7 separate regions of the Homo sapiens genome follow, and all the other regions are linked to region 1. Evidence: promoter capture Hi-C in 16 types of primary human blood cells and fetal thymus (Javierre and others, 2016). All regions are on one chromosome and are shown on one strand. Each heading gives the region's core, a stretch centred on a gene start or on the middle of the fragment in contact. The rest is flanking DNA. Distances are from core to core; before and after follow the strand shown.

What was found. The method cuts DNA at HindIII sites, captures the fragments that hold promoters and counts their contacts. A CHiCAGO score of 5 or more calls a contact.
Region 2: a contact is called between a fragment that was not itself captured here and the fragment with the promoter of ANKRD33B in region 1, in 1 of 17 cell types (neutrophils). The highest score is 7.3, in neutrophils.
Region 3: a fragment that was not itself captured here is called in contact with the fragment with the promoter of ANKRD33B in region 1 in 3 of 17 cell types (neutrophils, activated CD4 T cells and total B cells); the score reaches 9.4 in neutrophils.
Region 4: a contact is called between a fragment that was not itself captured here and the fragment with the promoter of ANKRD33B in region 1, in 2 of 17 cell types (neutrophils and naive CD8 T cells). The highest score is 11.5, in neutrophils.
Region 5: a contact is called between a fragment that was not itself captured here and the fragment with the promoter of ANKRD33B in region 1, in 1 of 17 cell types (neutrophils). The highest score is 5.6, in neutrophils.
Region 6: a fragment that was not itself captured here is called in contact with the fragment with the promoter of ANKRD33B in region 1 in 2 of 17 cell types (neutrophils and monocytes); the score reaches 5.5 in neutrophils.
Region 7: a contact is called between the fragment with the promoter of CMBL here and the fragment with the promoter of ANKRD33B in region 1, in 1 of 17 cell types (neutrophils). The highest score is 5.2, in neutrophils.

Annotation. Positions count from the first base shown.
Region 1 is chr5:10,561,996-10,565,419 of GRCh38, reverse strand. It overlaps ANKRD33B (ankyrin repeat domain 33B), which reads right to left and starts at 1,350. Exons shown (of 4, transcript NM_001164440.2): 1 at 587-1,350. The coding sequence starts at 952. RefSeq lists enhancers at 167-376, 1-392, 393-1,287 and silencers at 517-566, 907-1,766. The HindIII fragment of the contact is 7,834 bases long and covers 1-3,424 here.
Region 2 is chr5:10,219,369-10,222,882 of GRCh38, reverse strand. No RefSeq gene overlaps it. Among named protein-coding and RNA genes, the nearest start is that of ATPSCKMT, 29 kb to the left of the region's middle. The HindIII fragment of the contact is 9,924 bases long and covers 1-3,514 here.
Region 3 is chr5:10,241,113-10,244,701 of GRCh38, reverse strand. All of the region lies in intron 1 of ATPSCKMT (ATP synthase c subunit lysine N-methyltransferase), which reads left to right. Among named protein-coding and RNA genes, the nearest start is that of ATPSCKMT, 7.0 kb to the left of the region's middle. The HindIII fragment of the contact is 1,443 bases long and covers 1,572-3,014 here.
Region 4 is chr5:10,260,605-10,264,442 of GRCh38, reverse strand. It overlaps CCT5 (chaperonin containing TCP1 subunit 5), which reads right to left. Exons shown (of 11, transcript NM_012073.5): 7 at 3,532-3,651; 8 at 2,698-2,883; 9 at 1,825-1,962; 10 at 1,129-1,309. Among named protein-coding and RNA genes, the nearest start is that of CCT5, 12 kb to the right of the region's middle. The HindIII fragment of the contact is 8,542 bases long and covers 1-3,838 here.
Region 5 is chr5:10,835,946-10,839,595 of GRCh38, reverse strand. No RefSeq gene overlaps it. Among named protein-coding and RNA genes, the nearest start is that of CTD-2154B17.1, 51 kb to the right of the region's middle. The HindIII fragment of the contact is 1,577 bases long and covers 1,584-3,160 here.
Region 6 is chr5:10,861,808-10,865,365 of GRCh38, reverse strand. No RefSeq gene overlaps it. Among named protein-coding and RNA genes, the nearest start is that of CTD-2154B17.1, 77 kb to the right of the region's middle. The HindIII fragment of the contact is 7,130 bases long and covers 1-3,558 here.
Region 7 is chr5:10,306,379-10,309,893 of GRCh38, reverse strand. CMBL (carboxymethylenebutenolidase homolog) reads left to right here and starts at 1,992. Exons shown (of 6, transcript NM_138809.4): 1 at 1,992-2,269. RefSeq lists an enhancer at 2,214-2,714. The HindIII fragment of the contact is 4,286 bases long and covers 1-3,406 here.

The DNA.
Region 1 (3,424 bases), core at 101-2,600:
AAAGCTCAGCGGAGGTGGGGTAGGGGACCAAGCTGTCCCGGCGAGGGAAGAAACTGTTGCTTCCAAATCATTGCGGCTGGAGGAGCCGATCTGCGCCCCAGCGTGTTAGGACAAGGGCGGCGCGAGGGGCCCAGGGGCCAAATGGGGCGCTGGGCAGGAGGGGCTGTCTCCTGCAGGGGAGGAGGAATGGTCCCCTGCCAGGGACCTGGGGAAAGGTAATAGTCAGGAGGGGACCGGGCCGCAAGAAGCCCATCCTGGATTGCAGCACGGGCAGCCAGCGCGAATTCAGTCAGGAGGTCCACGGGGACCGGTAAACGAGAAGGGGATGCGGTGAGGACGCCGGACTGGCGTTTCTGCCGCGCTGACACCTCGACTGCTCCCTCCCCGCACCGCGTCCCCCAGCCTGAGACGGGGAAGCCACCCAGGGCACCGCGCTCCCAAACAGCGGGGAAAAGGCGCTCTGGGCGGCGGCTGAGTGACCGAGGGACCGGTCCGGAGCCAGGAGCTGGGAGGCGCGGGGATGTGGTGGGGAGGAGGGGAGTGGGGGCAGTGAGGGGGCTCAAATCCTGCGGGGACGCCCGCTTACCCTGCCGTTGCGGTCAGTCTCCTGCGCCTCCTCGACGCTCACCCCGCGCCGCACCAGCGTCCGCAGCAGCCCCACGTTGTTGGCGCAGGCGGCGCGCAGGAGGGTCGCCGTCTCCGGGACGCTTTCCGGGACGCCCTCCGGGACGCTCTCCGCGCTCTCGACGCCGTGCTCCTCCTCGTCCTCGAAAGGGTAGAAAGAGTCGTCCGAGGCGATGCTGCGGGTGTCTGGCAGACTCGAGAAGTCCTCAAACTCTTCGTAGTCAGCGGGGTCCTCCTCGACCTGCGCGCCCCGGGGTGGGGACGGCGGTGGTGGGGTCATGCAGCGCGCCCCGCCGCCCTCCGGCCCGGTCCCGGCCAGCAGCACCATGCCGGCGGCCGGGGCGCGGGCCGGGGGCCGGGGCGCGGGCAGGAAGAGCGGGACGCGGGGCGCGCGCCGAGGTCCCCGCTTCTCGCTTCTGCGTCCCCAGAGAAGCCGTGGCCCGCGCGCTCCAGCTCGGCGGAAACCGGCACCAGGCGGCTGCGCTCAAAGAAAAAAGTCTCCGGAGGCTGAGCGAGCCCCTGGGGTGGGCGGGACCGCGGGGGCTTTCCGAGGCGGGGCGGGGCGGGGCGCGGGGACACGCCTTCCCCCGGGGCCTTCCCCTCGCGCCCCTTCCTGGCCAGAGTTCAGAGCCAGGCAGGCGCTCTCTCGAGCGCGGGGACTGGGCACCTGGCAGCGTTGCCCCAGAGCTGGGGACAGCTGGCGCGGGAGAAGCAGAAGCAATCACTAAAGAAGCCGAACCCGAGTCGCGGGCGGCAAGCGGCCCCGCCCCTCCCTCCGCCGGCCCGCGGGATGGGGGCGGAGGTGGCGGCGGGGGGACGCCGGGGCGGAGCCGGCCTCCAGCTTCGGGAACCTCGGACCCCTGGAGCCGGCCTCCGCCGAGGGCGTCGGGCCCCCGGACCTGGGTGGGGCCGGTTTCTCCCGCCGCTTCAGAGGAGCAGAGCGGGTTTTCTCCCTTCGGGGGATCCCGGGCTTCGGGGCTGACTCCACCCGGCCGCGGCCGCTTGGAGGCCGGGGAATCCCCGGGGCGCTTGGCGGGCAGAGGAGCCGGGCGCGGGAGCGGAGCCGTCCACCTGGGACCTGTGCCCGGGGAGCGCTGCGGGCCGGGCCACTCTGAACTGGGGGCGGTCGGCTGCTGTGGGGGAGTCCCAGCCCGGAAGGGAGGACAATCCTCAGAGTCCCCCGTCTCGCGGAACCGGGGCCGGCCGTGGCTTGAGGGTTGGTCAGATCCTGGGATGGGGGGCGGGGTGTTCCGGAACCTCAGGGAGCATCTGAGTGGGAACGGACGACGAGGAACTCCCCGTCCCCATGCCTGGCCTGTGTCACGTGCGGGGATCTGCGGACTCACCCCCGGAGGCTGCGACTGGGCGCTGACCCCACGTCTGGCTGCCCAAAAGAGCAGGGCCGCGGGCGACAGCCGCAGTCCAGGCCCACAGCCCCTCTGGCCCGGCCTTGCCCTCTCCCCGTCAGTCCTGGCGCCGGGGATGGGCGGGGAGGAGGAGGGCGTGTGAGGATTTGCCACAGGGAGCCCTTGACTTCGGGGTAGGAGGCGTCGTGAGCCAATCTTGGGGGAAGGTCTCTGCGCAAAGGCGCGGAGGTGCGCTCGCGCCCGTCGCAGGTCAAAGACTGCGGAGGCCACCAGCCCTGTGTCCCCCTAGCCTCCTTCCTTCCTTTTTTTCCCCCGATCTTGACAGCGTGTCCACCAGCTGCCAGCCGGTGGGAGGCCCTCGCGGCCCCAAGGTGAACACAGCTAGGCTGGCGCAGCCGCTGGGGACCAGGCTTGAGGCCCACGTGCCGCTGGGCAAGCTGAGGGGCACGAGGGCACCGAATCCGAAACAGCCGTGGGAGGTGTAGGATGAGGACACGTTTAAACTGCGAAGCCGCTCGAGCCCTCGTGTCACACCGCACTGGCCCGACCCGCTGTCCTGGTCGCCTGGTCTTCCAGTGTCTCCAGCAGGAGCCAAAGGGCCTGCTGGCGGCCCCCGACCCGGCATCTGCAGGGCCCCGGAGGGTGGGGCGCGCGGGAGCACCGATTTCTGGTGAAGACGCCCTCGCACCTGGGCGGCTCTGAGCGAGCAGCGAACTGAGACTCGCTGGCCTCCTTCTCTACTCCGGGGATTCTTTCTGCAACCAAAAATAGCCCCCAGATTACAGTAAACTCTACCTTTTTGTGTAACTGACCACAGTTTGCATCAATTCCCACTGGGAATTTCCCCTTTCAAGGTTGAGGGTTGTTTCCAAAGGCCTGGGGTAGTTACAATTTCAAGTGCCCCCTGAGGGCTGAGTTGGGTTTGCTGGACCCACTGTCCTCCCAGGGAGAGCACTGCGTCACTTTACAGCAAGAGTCCCGGCTGCGGGTCACCAAGGCCCAGGTGGACAGGGCCAGGCCCTGAGAGGGGAGCACCACGCAGCCTTTTCTGGCCTCCCGTAGGCGATTGGTGCTCATTGACCGCGTCACTCAGCAAGGGAATTGAGGTTCTATCTTCAGAGTTTACCACTTCCTTTTCTTCCTTAGAAATTTGAGTCCAAATAGCATTTGAATGTGTTTCCCCTTAAATATAAACTAAAATGTCATCGTCTGCTTCAAAGAAGAACTATCGTTTATAAGTAAGTGGTCCGATTCAGGATGCAAGCTGATCATTTTCCTGTCTTTTAAAAATAAACCGCTAAGAAGAAACAATAAATAAAAAATAAAATATGCTTCTTTTACAACAAAGACAGTAGAGTCTGGACATTTCTGGAAGATGGGCTAAAAGAAACACAAAATCGACCGGGCGCGGTGGCTCACGCCTGTAATCCCAG
Region 2 (3,514 bases), core at 96-2,595, 340 kb after region 1:
AGAAATGAGACTTTCTTCCAGATACACTGTGTTCATCATTGCTGGGAGATGGTATGCACAACATACATTACAGCTCAACAGAATAGAAGAAATGCAAGATTTTTGACATTTAAGCCATGCAGCTGGATTCCATTCCCCTCCCAAAGTACTTTCTCTGGTGGCCAAAGGTGTTAAAGACCTGGCTGTGAAGAAATAAGTGTTCTGAAGTCCAGGAGTCTTCTGAGCTTGTGCTGTTGCATTTATTTCATAGCTTATCACTGGCTGAGCACATTCTGGGAAAAACTGTAGTCATTGCAGTGCATACTTCAGGAGTCTGCTTAAGTCAACAAACAGAAGAACAAGAAGTACCCTTGGGGCCCTATGTGCCTTAGTGTGACCAGCCTTTCATTAAGATGCCTGAAGTCATCTGGACCATGGAGCTGTTCTCACCTGGCTGTGCAGTAACATCTGTAGGCCTCTGACCCAGCTCGCCTGTCCTGGAGCAGGGACACTAGGGGGCTGGGAAGGCAGTGTGCAGACACTGCCTGCCTCCTACCCCCGCCTCTTTGTCTTGCCAGCAGAGCCCTCCGTTTCTCAGGTGTCAGGATCAATGTGCTCAGTGAAGAGAGGCCCTATCAATTACCCAATTCCATTCCCCTTTGCCATGGGTGTTAGGGTGGGCTGTGGGCATGTGACCTGGTTCCTGCCAATGAGATTTGAGGGGAAGTCTGCTCGGAGCTTTGGGAAAGGCTTTTGTTGCTAATAGAAGGTGTTACATGAGGAGCAAGCATCCTTCCTGTTTTTGGACATGCTATGTAGGACGGTAATGCCTGGAGCTTTAGCAGCCACTCTGTAACCATGCGGGGAAAAGTGAAGATGGAAGCCAAGATACCGAGGCTGGTGGAGCAGACAGACGGAACGACCCTGGGTCTTGGGTATGCTGCTGAGCTGCTGCATTGACCCTGAGCCTCGTACTGCAAGACGTCTTGTTATGTGAAGTAATAAGCCCATGTTTTATGCTGCTTTTACATGAATGTTGTGTTATTTGCACCCTACATCATCCTGAAGGAGGAAGGAGGATTGTAAGGCTGACCTGGGGCAAGGGGAGCCGACAGTGTGCAGTGCAGGCATGGAGAGGCCACTGTCTCCACCCAGAGAGGACTAGAGGACTGGAAGGTGCGTCTGGAGCATGTGAAGGATGGAGACTTCCCGGGGGAGGGAGCCCCACTCACAGAGTAGTTCCTAGGAGTGGTGTCTGGGGGAACTCTACCAAGTCAAGAGGGCCGTGCATTTGGACCAGACTTCCCAGGTGATCAGATGGCTCCTGAGGAACACCAGTCACCCCAGGAGGTCTTCCTGTTCTTAGGGGTATGGGCAAGCCACAGCATAGCCTCAGCCATGTCCTCATACCACAGGGAGCTTTATAGGCGAGGAGACTATTTCTCAGGATTAGAAAAGGAATTAGGGAAACCAAGGTCACTTTCAGACTGCCATTCTTGGCAGATAGGGTTACCAAGTATAGGAGCTGGTAACTTAGAAGAGCCACGCCCAGTCCTGAGCACTGGCACTATCCACACTTCTCCCAGCTCTAGTCAACATCTCCTTAGCCCTCATTAGGATGGGAAGTGGAGGGAGCCATACTTCCAAAGGATTCTCCAGTGGGATGGCCGGGAAGAGGCCAACCATACCTCTAGCATGACAGTCCAGCTGGTTGGCTAAACAGGCTCCAGAAGTTCCACTGTCCCTGTGGGTGGCAACTGGGGGTAGACTTGGCACCATCCCTCCATGGGGGGGTCTTCTTGGGTGGGGTCTCCTCTGAGCCTCCCCTTCCTGGTTCACAATGGGGGATGCCTTTGGTATGGCCTGTCCATAAACTAATAATGGTTTAGAATGGATGACATAAAAAACTAGAAATAGAAAAAAGGAACAGAAGCCACACTGATCAACAGAAATACATTCCGGATGGTCAATGCCTTGAAAACATATCCTAGGCGGCACAATTAAAGAGGCTGTGAATGTTTACTCTGGACGAGAGGATGTTTGGAGGCAGATATTTTCACATATCTGCAGGGCTGCCATGCAGATGAAAGGAAGGTAGTGGACACGACTGTGTGCCAGGGGTTTCCATGCACTGTATACCCTTCTCCTCCGCAGGGACATAGCCCTGTCTTCCTTTTTTTTTTTAAATCAAGGGTAGTTAACTTGCTCAGAATCACAGCCAGACACAGGAGCACCAGGTCTTTATTACACTCAGTTGCTCCCCTGGAAGTAAACCTGTTCTGATTGGCTTTGGGGGGCAAAGTAGGGTCATTGGGTGGATGTTGAAGGGATATGAAATTTAAGCTCAGTACAAAGTACCGTCTTAACAAAGTCATTAAAAGTTAGAATGCGTTGCCTGTGGGTGTAGTTCCTTCTGCCTGGAGATGCAGAGCGGAGGCTGGACAGCCACTTGGTGGGGATGTTGTAGAAGGGATCCATCCACAGGCAGGCATGGAGTCCTAAAATTACCCTGAACGATGAGGAGTTTTCCAGTCTGAGCAGGGCCACCTGAATCCTTTCGGCAGACCTCCGCGGAAGATCTGTGAGGCACTAAAGCAGCCTTTGGCAATAAAAGTGTGTCACGTAACTCCATCTAAACCTAGCATCCCCCCAGACATTAGGGCGCTGTGGCAATTTTTCACTCTGGTATTGCCTAACAAAGTAGCCAAAATATTGGCAAAGGTGATGGATGAAGGTAAACTGTATCAGAATCCAGCCAGGAAGTGTGGATGCTCAGAAGAGAAAGTTGGCGTCTGTCAGATCCCAGAGGGTTTAGCTGGAGCTAACACAGTGATGCTTACTCCATGCCAATTAGAACTGAGGGACTGTTCTTGAAGCCCCTGGTGGGAATATGTCACTAGTGGTGTCTTATCCTCTTTTAAGTGACACTGCTTCATTGCCAAGGGAGCAGCCTTATGAGGACCAAACCTTGCCCCTTTCCAGCCCTTCCCCAACTGATGGGATCAGTGTTGGGCCTCTGAGCCAAAGCAGGCCAGGCTGTAGGCTGGCCAGCAAAGTGGCTGGCAGGAAGAGATGAGATGTCAGCTTCCATGTTGAGAATTTAGGGAACAGAAAGATTGAACACATAGAATTAAGGTCATGAGATTGAGGCCAGAGGAATGGCAATGGCTGTGAGAGAGATGGGAGAATAACAGTCAGGCTTTTCTCTGAGTCCAGGGAGCAGGCCACCGTCCTGAGGCATAAGACTAAGCCAGGGGCTCACTCCATCCCCTGGCCAGTGGGGCCTTGGCCCTGAGTTCAGCAGGAGCAGAGCTGCCACTGAACCTCAGAACGTCTCGGCTTGTCTCCTCATCTGATTACATCGAGTGTCATGTTCCTGGAAGAACTCCACTATGAAATAAGTGATTTTATGATGAATGGAAATACCACTTGCCATGGCAATTATTAAACACAAGGAACTTATTATCTCCCAAAGACAATGCGGGCTATATGTTTAAATAGAAAAATGTACATTGATATAAATGTAAGGATAGCT
Region 3 (3,589 bases), core at 1,044-3,543, 320 kb after region 1:
GGCTTCAAGCAATCCTCCTGCCTCGGCCTTCCAAAGTGCTGGGATTATAGGCATGAACCACTGTGCCTGGCCGACTTTTCTTAAATAAATGCATGACTACCACTTGAGCAAACAGAGGCATACTTTGTTTTATTGCACTTTGCAGATAGTGCACTTTTTTGTTGTTGTTGTTAGAGATAGGATTTTGCTATTATTGCGCAGGCTGGTCTCAAATTCCCGGGCTCAAGCGATCTTCTGGCCTCAGCCTCCTGAGTAGCTGAGATTACAGGTATGAACCAACATGCCCCATTCAGTAGTGTGCTTCTTACAAACAGAAGGTTTATGGCAGCCCTACGTGGAGCAAGTCTGTTCGCACCATTTTTTCAACAGCATCATGCTCACTTTTTATCTCTGTGTCACATTTTGGTAATTCTTGCAATATTTCAAATTTTCCACTATTTTTATGTCTGTTATGGTGATCTATGATCAGGGATTTTTGATGTTTCTATTGTAAATGTTTTGGGGCTCCACAAGCCATGCCCAAATAAGAGTGAACTTAATCGATAAATGTGTGTTTTCCTACTGCTGCACTGGCCATTCCTCTATCTCTCTCCATCTCCTTGGGCCCTCCTATTTCCTGAGACACAACAACATTGAAATTAGGCTGATTAATAACCCTACAATGGGCTCCAGGTGTTCAAGTGAATGAGTCACACTTCTACCATTTTAAATGAAAAGCTAGAAATTATTAAGCTTAGTGAAGAAGGCATGTGGAAAACTGAAATAGACTGAAAATTAAGCCTCTGGCATCAAACAGTTAGCCAGGTTGTGAATGCAAAGAGAAAGTTGTTGAAGGAGATTAAAAGTGCTACTCCAGTGAACACACAAATGATAAGAAAGTGAAAAAGCTTTATTGCTGGTATGGAGCAAGTTTGAGTGGTCTGGATAGAAAATCAAACCAGCCACATCATATCTTTAAGCCAAAGCCTAATCTAGAGCAAGGCCCTAACTCTTTTCAGTTCTCTGAAGGCTGAGAGAAGTGAGGAGAGTGCAGAAGAAAAGTTTGAAGCTAGCAGTGGTAGGTTCATTAGGTTTAAGGAAAGATAAGCCATTTCCAGAGCATGAAAATGCAAGGTGAAGCAGCAAGTGCTGATGGAGAAGCCGCAGCAAGTTATCTAGAAGATCTAGCTAAGATTGTTGATGAGGGTTGCTGCACTAAACAGATTTTCTTTTTTTTTTTTCTTTTGAGACGGAGTCTCGCTCTGTCATCCAGGCTAGAGTGCAGTGGCCTGATCACTGCAACCTCTGCCTCCCGGGTTCAAATGATTCTCCTGCCTCAGCCTCCCGAGTAGCTGGGATTACAGGGGCGTGCCACCACGCCTGGCTAATTTTTGTATTTTTAGTAGAGACTGGGCTTCACCATGTTGGTCAGACTGGTCTTGAACTCCTGACCTTGTGATCCGCCCACCTCAGCCTCCCAAAGTGTTGAGATTACAGGCGCGAGCCACTGTGCCTGGCCAGCAGATTTTCAATATGGATGAAACAACCTTCTATTGGAAGCTAGAGAGAAATCAATGCCTGGTTTCAAAGCTTCAAAGAATAAGCTGACTCTCTTGTTAGGGGTCAGTGCAGCTGGTGACTTTAAGTTGAAGCCAATGCTTACTGGCCATTCTGAAAATCACAGAGTCCTTAGGAATGATGCTAAATCTACTCTGCCTTGCTGTATAAATGGAACAACACAGCCTGGATGACAGCACCTTTCTTTACAGCATGATTTTTGAATATTTTAAGCCCACTGTTGAAACCTACTGATCAGAAAAAGGATTCCTTTCAAAATATTACTGCTCATTGATAATGCACCTAGTTACTACTCAATTGCTCTGGTGGCGGTGTACAAGGACATGAATGTTGTTTTCATGCCTGTCAACACAGCATTCATTTTGTAGCCCAAGGATCAAGGGGGTAATTTTGACTTTTAAGTCTTGTTATTTAAGAAATACATTTCGTAAGGCTAGAGATGCAATAGATAGTGATTACACTGATGGATCTGGGCAAAGTCAATTCAAAACCTTCAGGAAAGGATTCACCATTCTAGATGCCATTAATAACATTCATGATTCATGGTAGGAGGTCAGAGTATCAACATTAATAGGAGTTTGGAAGAAGTTGATTTCAATCCTCATGGATGACTTTGAGACCTAAGTGGAGGAAGTAACTGCAGATGTGGTGGAAATAGCAAGAGAGTTAGAAGTGGAGCCTGAAGATGAGACTGAGTTGCTGCAACCCCATGATAAAATATCAGTGGATGAGGAGTTGCTTTTTATGGATGAGCAAGGGAGGTTGTTTCTTGAGATGGAATCTACTACTGGTGAGGATGCTGTAAACATTGTTGAAATGATGACAAAGAACTTAGAATATTTTATAAACTTAGTTGATAAAGTAGTGGCAGAGTTTGAGAAAATTGACTCCAAATTTGGAAGAAGTTCCACTGTGGGTAAAATGCTATCAAACAGCATCACATGCCGCAGAGCAATCTTTCATGAAGGGAAGAGTCTATCAATACAGCAAACTTCATTGTTGTCTTATTTTCAAAAATTGCCGCAACGACCCCAACCTTCGGCAACCACCACCCTCATCATTGAGCAACCATTAACGTCAAGGCCAGATCCTACACCAGTGAAAAGATTATGACTCACTGAAGGCTCAGATGATCATTAGCATTTCTTAGCAATAAACTCTTTTTTAAAAATTAAAAAAAATTTTTCGAAGATAAATCAGACCAAAATGTCAAGCAATAAAGGATTTTAAAATTAAGGTACATACATTGTTTTTTGAACAGTGCAATTGCACACTTAATAGACTCCAGTATAGTGTAAACATAACTTTTATATACAGTGGGAAACCAAAAATATTTGTGTAACTTGCTTTATTGCAATACTCACTTTATTGCAGTGGTCTGGAACTAAATATTTCCAAGGTATGCCTGTAAGTTCCTCCGTAAAATGCCAAAATTATAACTGAAATTATTTAAAGCTTTTGCTTTCTATCAAATGCCATCACCTTCTTAAAGTTAATTTTCTTTACCCCCATCACTAGCATTAATACTAGCACTAGCATTAGTAGCATTCTTCCTCCCACCGCCCCCTCCGCCGACCCAGTTCGTTTTCCACTGTGAAATCAGTTTTACAACTCATTTTAAGGGGCTTCAGGAATCAAGAACAAAGCTGCGCTGAGTGGGGGATGCTGGCGATTGGCTGGCTGCCCTGAGGGTGACCCACTGCTGTGTGCCAGCTTTCTGTGTGTCTTGGGTTCAAATTTGTACTGCACTAGAATAGATTGCCGTAGTTCATGGGTGTGGTGGGAAGAAAAATGTCCTCTCCAGGAATGTCCACATTCTAATTCCTGCACCTGTACAGATGTAATCAGTGGTCTTGAGATGGGAGATTATTTTGGATTATTTATGTGGGCCCAGTGTTATCATGAGGGTTCCTATAAATTAAGAGGGAGCCAGGCATGTGAGAGAAGGTGATGTCAGGACAGAAGCAGAGATTGGAGTGATGTGGGGTCAAGAGCCTAGGAATGTGGGCAGCCTCTGGAAGCAGGAAGAGAC
Region 4 (3,838 bases), core at 1,339-3,838, 300 kb after region 1:
GAGCTGTTGGGAGGGCACTGTCTTCAATGACTAGCTACAGGGTGACATTTTTCAGGAACATCTTATCCCACAAAGTATCCATACCCTAACTTAGGAAATCTAAAGTAAGTCCATCTGACCACAGCTGAAATGTAAGATATTTCCAAGAAAGATCTAGAAATGCTAATTTTTTTTTTGGAGACAGGTGTCACCCAGGCTGGAATACAACAGTGCGATCTCAGCTCACTGGAACCTCTGCGTCCCGGGTTCAAGCGATTCTCCTGCCTCAGCCTCCCGAGTAGCTGGGATTACAGGTGCCTGCCCTGACCAGGCCTGGCTAATTTTGTATTTTTTGTAGAGATGGTGTTTCACCATGTTGGTCAGGCTGGTGTCAAACTCCTGACCTCAGGTGATCCACCCGGCTTGGCCTCCTAAAGTGCTGGGATTACAGACATGAGTCACTGCGCCCGGCCCTAGAAATGCTAAATTTGAGCACAACCAGGCATTCAAGTTAGAAACATTAAATGTTTGCCTCACAAAGAGTTGCTACTATTGAAACCCTTGGAATTTGAGCATGGAAAGCAGAATGTACCTATACCTTTAAGCAAAAGCTGTCATTCTGTGGATGGATTACAGACATGGCCTGATTTAGTACAGAAATGCCTGAGACCACTGTTTCAACAAGCTACAGCCACCATATCTTTTTGGGAGCCGAGCTACACAAGTGGCTACAGAGGTTATATATTACATTTAGAAAACACTCCACAGTGTGCAGGATTAACCACACAGTGAACTGTGAACTAAAGCCCACTTCAGAGCTGTTATATATATGCTGCCCACTGACAGACATCTGTGTAAAAACAGCAATAAGGCATTACTTCCCAAAAACCAGAGATTAAAACCTAAGTCATCTTTGGTGATAGTACCATATGCACTTTACTGTTATTACAATGAGTCTCATGTTGCTAGGTCTAGTAGTCTAACCAATTCCTACGGCAATCAAACATTCTAAAATTCAGGACTTGAACACCTGAAGTGGGCTTACATATTTAAAAAGACACCATCATCTCACAGCACATACAGTGGATGATTATTCAGTTTAAATCAGACATCCCCCCCCCTCCACGCAGAGGCGTGACAGCTCCTCACCATTTGTCCCCTTGTGCAAACAGTCGATGCCAAGAGCAGGGTTCATCTCCTTCACCTGTCTGGCTCGGACTTCGGTCATAGTCTGGATGGGATTCATGCCACTGTTTTCAGAGAGGGCCATGGGGATGACCTCCAGTGCGTCGGCAAACGCTCTCATGGCATACTGTTCTAAGGTGGGGCACTGGAAAGGTACAGAAGTATGGTGAGTGCACTTGGCGAAACAAAACAACCCAGCGGCACCGTGAAAACACAACTGTATCACATACTTTGAAAAGTCAGCTCACAAAGAATTGTAAGAACAGGCTGTCTTTATTTTTGTATCTATCAGAATATTATAATGTCACCACAGAATACAGGCAGAGGGTATACATACATGTGAGAGATGTCTCAAAATACAGCAGCTCTTATGGCTTTATTTTTAAGTTATAATATTAATTTTGAATTTCAAATAACATTAAAAGACTATAGATTTATTATTTCAAGGACGAACTGGCTGAAAACAGCTGAGAAATGCTAGGTTATGGTAACCAGAATCTGAATACAGGAACGTGGGAATTAACTTAGATTAAAACACCTGTCACCTACACACAGCTCACGATGCTTGTTTTGCATCCAGCACCTCGCTGTTCCGCAGCTTCACAGTCTCCACCATCAGCGAGGCCTGAATCTTTCACTAAGTCTGCACAGATCCCTTACCTTATCCGCCTCTTGGCTAACTGCCAGGGCACAGGATATCTCAGCAGCCCCTCCTCCATACACCACACGATTATCGCGGATGAGGTTCCGGATGACACACAAAGCATCGTGAAGGGATCGTTTCGCCTCCTCAATGATCTAAGGAAAACAGCTTTGCCTGAATTAATGTGATCAAGATCTAGTCAATTTAGAGCCAAGTATCTGGCACCTTTTTAAAGACAGAGAGGCTGTGCTCTAATATTTAGATGGCCTCCACTATCGGATAATATTTATCTTTCTAGCTTTCCTTCCTGCAATGTAGTTAACAAAATTCAAGAGGCAGAGGCGGCCAGTGACTCATTCTAGGATACACGGTCAAGCAAGAGTCAAAAACTGACAAAACTCGCAAAGATTTATCACAATGTGCTAAAAACTCATTCTCAAAGAACAGAGATCGTCAATGGTTATTCACTTGGGTTCCCTTTTTCTACCTAAGGGACAGATGTAAGTCATCCTTGGTAATAATACCATATTGTAATTAAAATGAGTCTTATGTTGCTAGGGCTAGCAGTTTAACCAACCCCTAATGTAACTGTATCAAACATTCTAAAATCCAGGACTTGAATATTTAAACTGTGTTTAAGTATTTAAAAAGATATAAAAATCTCATAGTGTATATTGTATACTCTAAGGGACAGCAGAAAGGCAAATGTGCCTTGTGAAATTAACAATTTAACATGGTCTTCAGTAATTTTACACCATGATACGTCATTGTTTGAGAACCACGATTATTTTTCTTATGGTGACTGTGTCTCTGTTAAATACACACAGGCAAAAAAGCCAGACCATGAAGCAAAATAAGCAACAGTATAGGACAAATAGTTGAATTCTCACCATCTTATTTCCTCCTCTAATAAAAATGGTTACAGCTCTGGAGTTCTTACACTGCTCGATGACCAGCATTTTATCCTTAGTTGTCCCAAATGAGATCTCCTGTACAAGACCAGCAAAGCCCAGCTTCTCGGCTGTGAGCTCTGAGAACCTGGGGACGATCCGCCCTCCTGTTGCGATGGCAATCAGCTAATTGGGGTGGTCAGGGAGAAGGATGAAGACAGTACTGGTGAAGTTAACTTTCAAAACTGGGCCACAAATGAGCAAAACTTGATCTAAGACCAACTTGTTCACTAGAACTGCTGCCCCACTTTGACCGAGACATCTCCAGTTCAACCCAAAGCACCTTGCTAGGTAACAAGGCTCTTGAGCTGGACGTCTTGATTGGGGCTTTGGTGCTGCCCAGATCTATCACCCGGCGCCCGTCCCCTAAGCTCATACCCTCATCTCCCATCTGTGCAGCCCTCCCTCACTCTGGGAACCCAGCCTGCATGTTCCTTGCACTGCGCTGCAGTGAGAACCACCGAGGCACCGTTGCCTGGGACTGCCATTAGTATTTGGATGAGACCAGGTCTTCCAGCCTTAGTAAGTCAACGACAGGGCCAAGTGAGACAACACAGGGAGAGAATTTCAAAATGCCAGGGAACACCAGAAACACACAGCACTGTTATCCAAACAGTAACAAAGATTCCAGCGCTTTCCTCTCTCCCAGCTCACCCTCCCCTCATCTGCCAGCCTTGGTGTGATGCAGTTATTTAAGGCAGGGCTATCAAAACACCCCTCAACACATAAGATGAACCCCTACTTCTCAAAGTCTCTTCACGTGGAACATCCTACCTCAATTTCAGGTCCTCCTACCCAGCGAACCGCAGGCAAGTTGTTCTGAAGAAGTAAGTGATTTGCTTCATCATCAAAGCCCCACTGACAAATTGCTAGGTTAGCACCAGTCTCTTTAATCTGGGAAAAGAACCACCACAATCGTATTAAGAGAAAGTGGGTATTTATTCTTCATTACAATGTTTGAAAAAAGGAGAGGCACAGTTGGGTGTAAGGCAGGTGCACTCAAACACAAAAGCAAAGGAAAGAGAAGGAAGGAAATAGACAAGTGTCCACTTTTCTGTCAGTTCCAAATTCTAAATAGTGA
Region 5 (3,650 bases), core at 1,123-3,622, 270 kb before region 1:
TGTCACCCAGGAGCCAGGTCCTGGAATAGGGACCTCAGGACTCTATCCTACTGTACCTTGTACCCTATCCTACTGTGGATGAGCTGGTATCCAAGTTTCAAGACAAAATCCTCTTTTCTCTTTTCTCTCCTCAAGTGGAGGGAAGGAATCTCTTCTGGAGTTTTGAGCTGTGATGGCTGGAATTGGATTAAAGGTGATGTAAGCACTCCATTCACTATCTCACTGGCTCACGTGTCCCCCAGGTCCACTGGCTTTGAGCCCAGCACAGCAGCAGGACTTGCCCAGCAATTGCAGTCCTTGTGGCCTAGACTGTGTTTCAAGTTTATTTACGACCCGAGAGCACTTTAGCCCACAGTGATGAGTCTTCCCTGAATTCAGATTGGGCTATTACCCTCTGGTTTGAGCTGGTCTAAATGTTTCTTTCATGGGCACCAGTTGAATTCTTCCAGATGTTGCTCTCTGACAGGGAAGCACTGAGTATTCCAACACAGTCTCATGATCACTACACTCTTCTTACCCTAAATGCACAGATTCTCCATGCCACAAGGTCACTGCTGGAGGATGGGGAAGGGGTGGAATCAGCAATTTAAGACTGCCTTTCCTACCCTCTTTAGTGCCTTTTACAGTAATCACCTGATTTTTTGGTTCTTATAAAGGTGCTTTCTGTGTGGATAGTTGTTCAATTTGGTGTTCCTACAGGGAGGACAATCAGTGAGCTTCTGTTTGGCCATGTTCCTCTGCCTCTCTCTCCTATAAACAGGGATTTGACCTTACATAGTTGCAGGAGCTGGTTAAGTGGCATCTGCAAAGCTGTTGTCCTGGAGTCTGATGACGATGCTTGAGGTCTACAAGGCAGGCAAGCAGGAAGAGAAGATGGTTATAAACTAGAAGAGGGGCATGGGCAAGGTGGTACCCAGAGGACAAACTGGATCTCATAACATATCAGTTTTTATTGCTTCTAAGGTTTATGATGCAGGAGTCCTGAAGAAGTTTAGGCCTTTGTCAGGGAGCTAAGCACACACTAGTGCAGGAGAGCTACAGGCTGCCGGTCAGGTTGCTGCCTAATGCCAGCCAGCCAATGGGCCAGCAACCATGCATGTGAGCTTAAAAAATACAAAAAAGCTGCCACTTTACTTCCACCTTCCAAATCTCCCATAAGACTCTCTCCTGAGGCCTGCCCTGACCAAAACATAAGGGAATTCTGAGAAACGTAGTTCAGTCTAGCCAGCACAACACATTACAAATGAATGATCTCAGGATGGCTGCATAAAAATTACCCTAACAGTGATGTAAAGCTATTTGTTATGCTCATATATTCAGGGGTTTAGAAACTGAAATAACGCGGTGTGACCATGACTCATCTCTGCTCCGCGATATCTAGGACCTTGAACACTGGGGGCAGAAGTGATCTGAAGGCTTGTTCACTCACTTGTCTGGTAGGTGATGCTAGTGGAGTCTAGGAGCCCAGCTCCTCTTCATGTGGACTTCTCCTTGTTTGTCCTCACAGAGCTGCAAGTGGTTCCAAGGGTAAACATCTGAGAGAGGGCCAGGTCCATATAAAGGGAGGTTGTACCCTTTAAGCTTTGGTCACGTACTGTCACTTCCACCATTTTCTCATGATTGGAGCAGTCACAAGTCTCACATTCATAGGGAAGAAACACAGACATGACTTCTCTGTGGGAAGATAGACAATTGCATTGAAATAAGAGCATATGAGGGGATATATGTACATACTACACATGTGGCCATCACTGGAAAACTCACCTGCCACAGTGACAATAGTGAATAGTGCTTGACATCATTGCATATTACAGGGAAAATCATCACAGTGTCATTTTGTTTAATTTGGAAATTAATTTTATTCTGACAATGTAGGATAAAAAATTCAACCAACTCTTAATGTACTGTGCTCCAAACACTGGAATAATCCAAGGCTTTCAGAGGATGTAAAGGGGCAAAAAATAAGTAAAGATTACACATCACAGATGCATTAAAACACTTTTCCTTGTAAGTGCCCAACTCAAAGTGGCTTAAAGCACAAGAGAAAAGTTATTGGTTTGTATAAGTGGAAAGTCCAAGGAATGTTTCTGATTTCAGGAAGGGTTTGATTCATGGATTAAGAATTCTGACTGACCCTATTCCTCCTGACCCAGCTTGGCTCCATCATTTTCAGTGAGGATCCCATCCTAAAAGAGAAGTCTACACTGACCTTAGGACTTTTAATTATTGATAAAAATAACATTTTTCCTGATCATGCCAGCAAAATGCCTGGGAAACCCTCTGATTGGTCTACCTTGGGTCATATTCTCATTGCTGAACCAATTACAGTGACCAGAGACATGGATAAGTTTTATTGGCTATCCCTGGGACCAGCTAGAATACATAGTTTTAACCATACCACAAGGACAGAGTAGGGACTAGACAGTAGCTCAGGAATGTTTCCCAGATAAGGAGATGTGGAGCAGACTAAAACATTCAGCTTCCCTACCCCAAGGAGAATGATATCATCATTACTAATATTTCAATGGTCAATGAATAGCTAATTAGTTACGTATGTGGATATCCACATGATTCGCTTTAAAATAAAATAATTTTACTTTGTAGGAATATAAGAAAAAGAGCATCTTAAGTAAATATAAAGAACACTACTTAATTCCCCAGAGGAAATTGTATACTAATATTAGTTGCAACCCAGCCACTGAGAAACTATTACACCTCACATCCGCATACATGAGCTCAAGTAGTTGACCTAGGTGTTCATTTGCTAGGGCTGCCATAACAAAGCACCACAACTGCGAGGCTTAAACAATGGAAATTGGCTCACAGTTCTGGAAGCTAGAAGTCCGAGATCAAAGCGTTGGCAGGGTTGGTCCCTTCCGAGGCTGTGAGGAAGAATCTGTTCTAGGCCTCTCCCTTAGTCTTGGGTGGTTTGCTGGAACTCTTTGTGTTCCTTAGCCTAGAGAAACACCATCCTGATTTCTGTGTCTAAATTTCCCCTTTTTATAAAGAAACCAGTCATACTGGATTAAGGCCCTCCCTAACGACTTATTTTAACTTGATCTGAAAAGACACTATCTCCAAATAAGGTCACATTCTAAGGTTCTGGGGGTTAGGACTTTAACATACTTTTGGCAGGGACACAATTCAACTCATAAAAGCTTGATTTCATTTTAGAAAGGTGTCATATCAGATATTTTAAGTACACTTGACACACAGTTGGTATTCCCTAAAATTCAGAAGTTTCAGAAGCTTCTTAGCAAGGACCATTATGTCTTTCTGGAACAATTCATGCCACCATGAAAAGTACAGGCTCTTATCAAAAGCAAAAACTAGGATTTCCTCCCAGGTCAGCACAATATGATCATTGAATATTTCTTGGTTACTTGGATATTCACTTCTAAGGTATCATATAACACTTACCTCTTTCCACAAGTACTAGGAACGACCAAGCATAGTTCCAAACCTGGAAAGGAAGAAGCAAACATTGTCTCTGTCAGAGACAAGCTAATATCAATCATTATTGTCAGATTAATCACAAATGCCATTCACAGTAAAAACTTTTCAGGCAAATTAATCAAGTATAATTGAATACTTGGAAGATAATATACTGTGTTTAGACAACTATATCCAGTATGAAAAGTCTTGAGATA
Region 6 (3,558 bases), core at 164-2,663, 300 kb before region 1:
AGTTCTGATCAACACATTGCAAACAGAAGTGATGAGCGTCACCTCTGGACAGGAGCATGTGGCTGCCAGTTCAAGACCCTCCTAAATTTTTCTCTTTTTCTCTCATGCACAGCAACTGGCAAATTCCCAGACCAGCATCATTGTATTGGCCAGGAACCTGCACACCTAGGGTGAGCAGAAACTCCCTAGAAAGCCACTGTGGTCAAGAAGTCTGAGTGAGGAATGAGCCTTTGTTACTTCAAGCCACCTAGTTTCTGGGGAGTATCTGTTACAGCAGCTGAGCCTCTCCTGACTGACTGATATACACATTAAGCAAGGTTTGCACTGTGGAAATCCTCAGTTTCTCAAGTGAAAGAAATGAAGCCGTCCCCAGCATCCAGTCTTACAGCTGGAACTTCTTGCCTAGAAAGAGCAAGATGCTGCTTCTCTCCTTCCCTAATTTCCTGTAGATTTTGTTCTTAAGACTGAGAGCTTTGTAGATGGACAATTAGAGACTTTAAAAACTTGTTTCAGTTGGGCACAGTGGCTCATGCCTGTAATCCTAACAGTTTGAGAGGTCAAGGCTGGTGGATCACTTGAGGTCAGGAGTTCAAGACCAGCCTGGCCAACATGGCGAAATCCTGTCTCTACTAAAAATACAAAAATTAGGCCAGGCACGGTGGCTCACGCCTGTAATCCCAGCACTTTGGGAGGCCGAGGCGGGTGGATCACGAGGTCAGGAGATCGAGACCATCCTGGTTAACACGGTGAAACCCTGTTTCTACTAAAAATACAAAAAAAACTAGCATGGTGGCGGGCGCCTGTAATCCCAGCTGCTCGGGAGGCTTAGGCAGAGTAGTGTGAACCCAGGAGGCGGAGCTTGCAGTGAGCCAAGATTGCGCCACTGCACTCCAGCCTGGGTGACAGAGCAAGAGTCCGTCTCAAAAAAAAAAAAAAAAAAAAAATAGCTGGGCGTGGTAGCAGGCACCTGTAATCCCAGCTACTTGGGAGGCCGAGGCAGGAGAATCACTTGACCCCGAGGGGTGGAGATCGCAGTGAGCCGAGATCACGCCACTTCACTCCAACCTGGGTAAAAGAGCGAAACTCCGTCTCAAAAACAAAAACAAAAACAAAAAACTGGTTTCACCTCTTACAAGCACCTAGGATGTGAGATAGCTCATGAGCAAAAACTTTAGTTGCCAACCTGTAAAGTGAAATTCGAAATACCTCCCACACAGGCAAATAATGGAATTAAATGAGATAACACAGAAAAACACCTGGAACACAGCCAATAATTGACACATTTTAATCTAATTGCACTCAAGGTGTGACCGAGATGCTCATTGCACAGCAGACCACATCATCCCCAACTTAGGAGGCCCAGGACCAGGAGACAGCACTTTAGCAGTGCCCCCTGGTGGTTATGCCGAGAACTACCTTAGGAAGCCCTGGGTTCTTCCTTTCCCCCGTGGTGGTTGCTACGAGGCCGACCCAGTGGCCTGGGTTGTTGTTTTATGGATAAATTTATTTTCTTTGCTGAGATGGGCTCGGGAGAAGAATCACTAGCAATTCAGTTTGCAACAACCTCGAAAAGTGGAAGAAAACAACAACATGGCTTTGGAAAGAAAGAGTCCTGACATGCTAATATCCCTTACCAGTTTTAATGCATTTAGAAAAGGTGGATGTAATGCTATGGTCCAAATGTTTGTGTCCCCCAAAATTAATATGCTGAAATCTTCACCCCCAAGGTAATGGTATTAAAAGGTGGGGACTTTGGGAGGTGATTGGGAGCCCTCATGAATGGGATTAATGCCCTTATGAAAGAGGATTGATAGCGATCCCTCAGTCCTTCCGCCATGTGGAACACGTGGGAGGCAGAAAGAAGGTACCGTCTACAAACCAGGAAACAGGCCCTAGCCAGACATTGAACCTGCCAGTGCTTTGATCTTGGACTTTCTCAGCCTCTAAAACTGTAAGAAGTAAAGTTCTGTTGCTTAAAAGCAACCCCATCTATGATATTTTGTTATAGCATCCTGAACAGACTAAGACATATAAGTATGCCTGAGACCAGCAAAACCTATGGGTTAAAAAAAAAAAAAAAAAAAAAAGTTATGGCTGGGCGTAGTGGCTCAGGCCTGTATTCCAGGCACTTTGGGAGGCCAACGTAGGGGATCCCTTGAGGCCAGGAGTTCAAGACCAGCCTGGCCAACAGGGTGAAACCCAATCTCTACTAAGAATGCAAAAATCAGCCAGGCATGGTGATGCACGCCTGTAATCCCAGCTACTCAGGAGGCTGCGGCACAAGAATCACTTGAACCTGGGTGGTGGAGGTTGCAGTGAGCCGAGATCGTGCCACTGCACTCCGCCTGGGCAACAGAGCGAGACTGTCTCAAAAAAAAACAAAAACAAACAACCGTTACTCTCATGAAGAATTCCATAAAACTAACAGGTTGGTACCCAGTTATTTGGAGTATCATGTTAGCACTAAATTATCATTTTTTCATATTGAATCAAAGAGAATAAATGTTCCAATGAATCTGAGCAATGAAGGGACAGCTTAGGAGCTGCAGACTTTCCTTTGCAGGTATCACTCAGATCTCATTCTAATGTGGGTAATCCAACTCCTGCCTTCATTCAAACAACCACACTTTGAATTTCTACATCTCCTTGGACTTGCCATAATAATCAGAAACCAAGAGGGTCCTAGGGCAGCAAACTGGAACGAGAAGGTGGTGGGACAGGAATTAGCGGGAGATCAGACATGCAGGACCAGAGACAGCCACCTAAAAGAGAAAATGGGACTGAAGAACAGAAGAAAGCCTTAATTTCATGTCAACAGGTTGATGACATCACATTCTATTTGCCATTTTAGTCAAGATTAACTGCAAAAAGGTCCTCTCCATGACCTTAGATGCCCTACTTACAGAGGCTGTCCTCACAACTTAGGAGTGCAGAGCTTAGCGACATTTTGGAAATCTCCTAAGGTTTAATCCTTAAAGGAATTACATGCTCAAAGAGAAAAAGAGGTATAGCAGGAAGGTCAATGGCCTCAGGTAGTCTGGACTTGTCCACAGGGAGCTAAGACAGTGGCCAAGGCTGGCTGCCAGAGTCAGGGACAGAAGCTGTCTCCCACCCACACCATCAAGAGTCATCTGAGGGCCATGAACTTAAGCCATAAGAATTATGAGGTCAGCAATGTTTCTTTTATGGAACAGGGTGGATATCAGGAAGGTCTGGAAATGAAGCTAGAGATCACAAATTAGTAGAAGAAAAAACTAAACTCTTTTCCAAATGGAAGAGCACCACAGTAAAATCTACCATCCCCACCTGTTTTTCAGGGGAAAGGTGCTTTGGAGAAGCGCTCAAGAGATGAGAAGTTTCCACTGAAGCCTCATTCCAGAGCATCTGTAGCAGAGGCTGCACTGCCATCCCCAGGACTGTCCTCTAATTCCTCCCTACAGTGAAAATGGGCCAGAAAAATGACATTTCTCAGTCTCCCTTTCAGGTACCTCCAGCCATTGAGTTATGTATATATTCCTGGGGCTGCCATAACAATGCAGTGACTTAAAACAACCGAAC
Region 7 (3,515 bases), core at 743-3,242, 260 kb after region 1:
TGTGATCATTCCACTGCTCTCCAGTCTGGGTGACAGAGTGAGACCCTGTCTCAAAAAAAGTAAATAAATTTTTTTCTTTGGCGCTGACCCTGAATTTGTTCTGGGTAATAACACTTTGGTAACTTTTTAAATTATTCTGATGTTTAAAAAATCCCTAACCACTATTTTAGAGAAATTCCAAGCCCATAAAATAATTCAACTGCAGATGTTTCAGACTGGGTTTTGAAAGATCCTGTCTGAAAGAAAATTAGTGTATCTCTAGAAGGAAAACACTGTTTTAGTCCGTTTGGGCTGCTATAACAAAAACACCAGGCTGGGCGAGGTGGCTCATGCCTGTAATCCCAGCACTTTGGGAGGCCGAGGCCAGTGAATCACCTGAAGTCAGGTGTTTGAGACCATCCTTACCAACATGGTGAAACCCCATCTCCACTAAAAATACAAAAAGTAGCTGGGCATGGTGGTACATGTCTGTAGTCTCAGCTACTCAGGAGGCTGAGGCAGGAGAATTGCTTGAACCCGAGAGGCGGAGGTTGCAGAGAGCCGAGATGGGACCACTGCACTCCAGCCTGGGCGACACAGCGAGACTCTGTCTCAAAAACAGCAACAGCAACAACAACAACAAAAACATCATAGATAGACTTGGGTAGCTTAAACAACATTTATTTCTTATAGTTCTGGAAGTTGGAAGTCTGGGATGGGCCAGCAGGATTGGGTTCTTGGTGAGTATCCTCTTCCTGGCATACAGATGAGGAAGCAAGCTCCCTTGCCTCTTTTTGTAACGGCACAAATCCCATTCTTGGGGGCTCCACCCTCATGACCTAAGCATCTCCCAAAGGCCCCGCCTCCAAATACCACCATGGGCGGGGTGGTTAGGATTTCAACGTACAAATTTTGGAGGGGACACAAACATTCAGTCCATAACAACACCTTTGCAGTGGGGATGGCAGGAAGTGCGGCCACCACGGTGCAATGGCTTTTTAATGTGCCCATTTGTCCAGGCTGAGCTATATTCCTAGAATTCCCTTTTCCTGTATGTTTCCAGTTTGAGTGAGCCACAGGGGTGTGCTTCTGCAGCCAAGTTGAAGCTGTTGTCATAACCTTGGGCAGATGACCAGAGAAAATACGAAGGAGGCAAGTATGAAACGTGTATTAATTTCTTTTTTAAAAAAAGGCTTAATTTGGGGCTGGGGCCGGGTGCGGCGGCTCACGCCTGTAATCTCGGCAGTTTGGGAGGCCGAAGCAGGTGGAACACTTGAGGTCAGGAGTTCGAGACCAGCCTGGCCAACACGGTAAAACTCCGTCTCTATTGAAAACACAAAAATTAGCTGGGCGTGGTGGCGCGTGCCTATAATCCCAGCTACTGGGGAAGCTGAGGCAGGAGAATCACTTGAATCCGGGAGGTGGAGGTTGCAGTGAGGTTGAGGTTGAGATCGTGCCACTGCACTCCAGCCTCGGCAACAGGGTTAGACTCCATCTCAAAAAAAAAAAAAAAAAAAAAAAAAATTGTGGCTGGGCATGGTGGCTCACACCTGTAATCCCAGCACTTTGGGAGGCTGAAGGGGAGGATCACTTGAAGCCAGGAGTTCGAGGCTCCAGTGATCTATGATTGTGTCACTGCACTCCAGCCTGGGTGACAGAATAAGACCCTATCTCTAAAATAAAATAAAATAAAATAAAATAAAATAAAATAAAATAAACAAAAAATAGCTTAATTTGTATTTACAACAGAAGTTACTTGTCTTGGAAGCCAGGCACGCACGTAAATCTCACAGAAGGCTGGCTGTCTTCCTTCTCCTGGCCTCCCTGCCTCCTCCCTCAAGGCTGCCTGATTCTCTTCTCCCTTCCTCTCTGCGGTTCCCTCCCTCCCACCCCCTCTCCCTGCACCTTTCTTTATCTTGGAGCCTCTCCCATCTCTCCCTCCCTCTTCCTCCCTACCCCACCCTCCGACCACCCCACTTCTTCCCCTCCCCTCACACTTCCCTCCCTCCCTTCTCTCGTCTCCTCCCCACTGCGCCTCCCTCCCTCCTGGCCTTCCTTCCCTTCCCCGACTTTGCAGATTTCTCTTCCCCCAGGCCTCCCTCCTCCACCTCTCCGCCCCCTCCGGGCTTGGCTCTCCCAGGAGGCTACGACTGGAGCCACTGGTCCCGCAGGATCCCCGCGTCCTCGGTCGCCGCGTCCACGTCCCTCTCGCGTCCCCGCCCGGCGCCACGCCGCCTCCTCTGGGTTCGGCCTCCGCGCGGTGCAGCGCAGTCTCAGGCCGCGGGACAAGGTACGTGCGCGTCCCCGGGGCACACAAGCCCACACAAGCCCGGGCCCCGCTCCTCTGAACTCCCGCGTGTGTTCTGACTATGGCAAAGAAGGTCTTTGCCGCGTGCACGGGTAAGGAACTTCCCATAGTCCGTTTTCAGAAGCTGACTTTCATAAAAGTGATACGTTGTCCTTGCAGAACAGCAGCCTCCACGATCCCATGCGTCCGAAGCAGCCGCTGTTTACATTTTGGTATTTTCCTGTAGGTGTTTCGCCATGCATTTTAAAGACATAGTGGAAATCACACCGTATGCAAACTTGCGTTCGTTTTGGCCATTTAGCACGGAGGAGCCTTTCCACCATGCCGTTAAATACTCCTTGTAACTCTCTTCCTGCAGTGAGACATTCTGGTTGTAGCGTTTTTACTAATATAAAACTATTAAAAAACTGAGCATATTTGCAACTAAATCAGCATCCACATTCGACAGCTTTTCTTTAGGGTGGGTATTAAGAAGAGAGGTGCTGGGTCTATGGATCTAAGAGTGGGACATCCTAAATGCTGGGTAGGTGTGCCAGGAACGACTGGACAGTTTACACCCCACAGCCATGTGGGTCGGGCAGGCCTTGGAAACACTGGGCACTGAGATTTATGTCCACTTGCTGATGGAAGATGCCACCTGTTGTTTTCAAAGCCCATTTAAAATAAAGTGGTTAGTAATGAGCCTCGCCGGTATCCGGGGAATCCTGTCCAGGCCTGGGAACCCTATCCAGGCCTAGGAACAGCCAGAGAAAAAGCAGATTCTGCAGGGGCGTCGTTGGCATGTCTAAGAGGGCCATTGTGGGCTCATCCAGGTAGCTTCCTAATTCATGCTATCTCGACCATAGACACTTGGAAAATACAAGCATGGCTGCTGAAAAATAAATATTTGGAGAAGTTTGATGTTTGTAGAATCATCTAAGGATAAGTACTGGCCCTGCCTTCCCTGCTGCAAGATTGAAAATCACTTGCCATGCAAGTTCCTACAATGTTTAAGCAGTAAAGGAGAAACCTCCTGCCTTTCCCATTAGACCCCACTTTCCTGTGTTGTCTTGGGGTCCTCTGTAACCCTGAGCCCTGGATGCACTTCCACGTGGTTTCTATTTCTAAATTTCTAAAGCTTCCAGAAATGTATTCCTCCCTTCTCTCCTCTCCTCCCCGCTGCGCCTCCCTCCCTCCTGGCCTTCCCTTCCCCTACTTTGCAGACCTCTCTTCCCCCAGACCTCCCTCC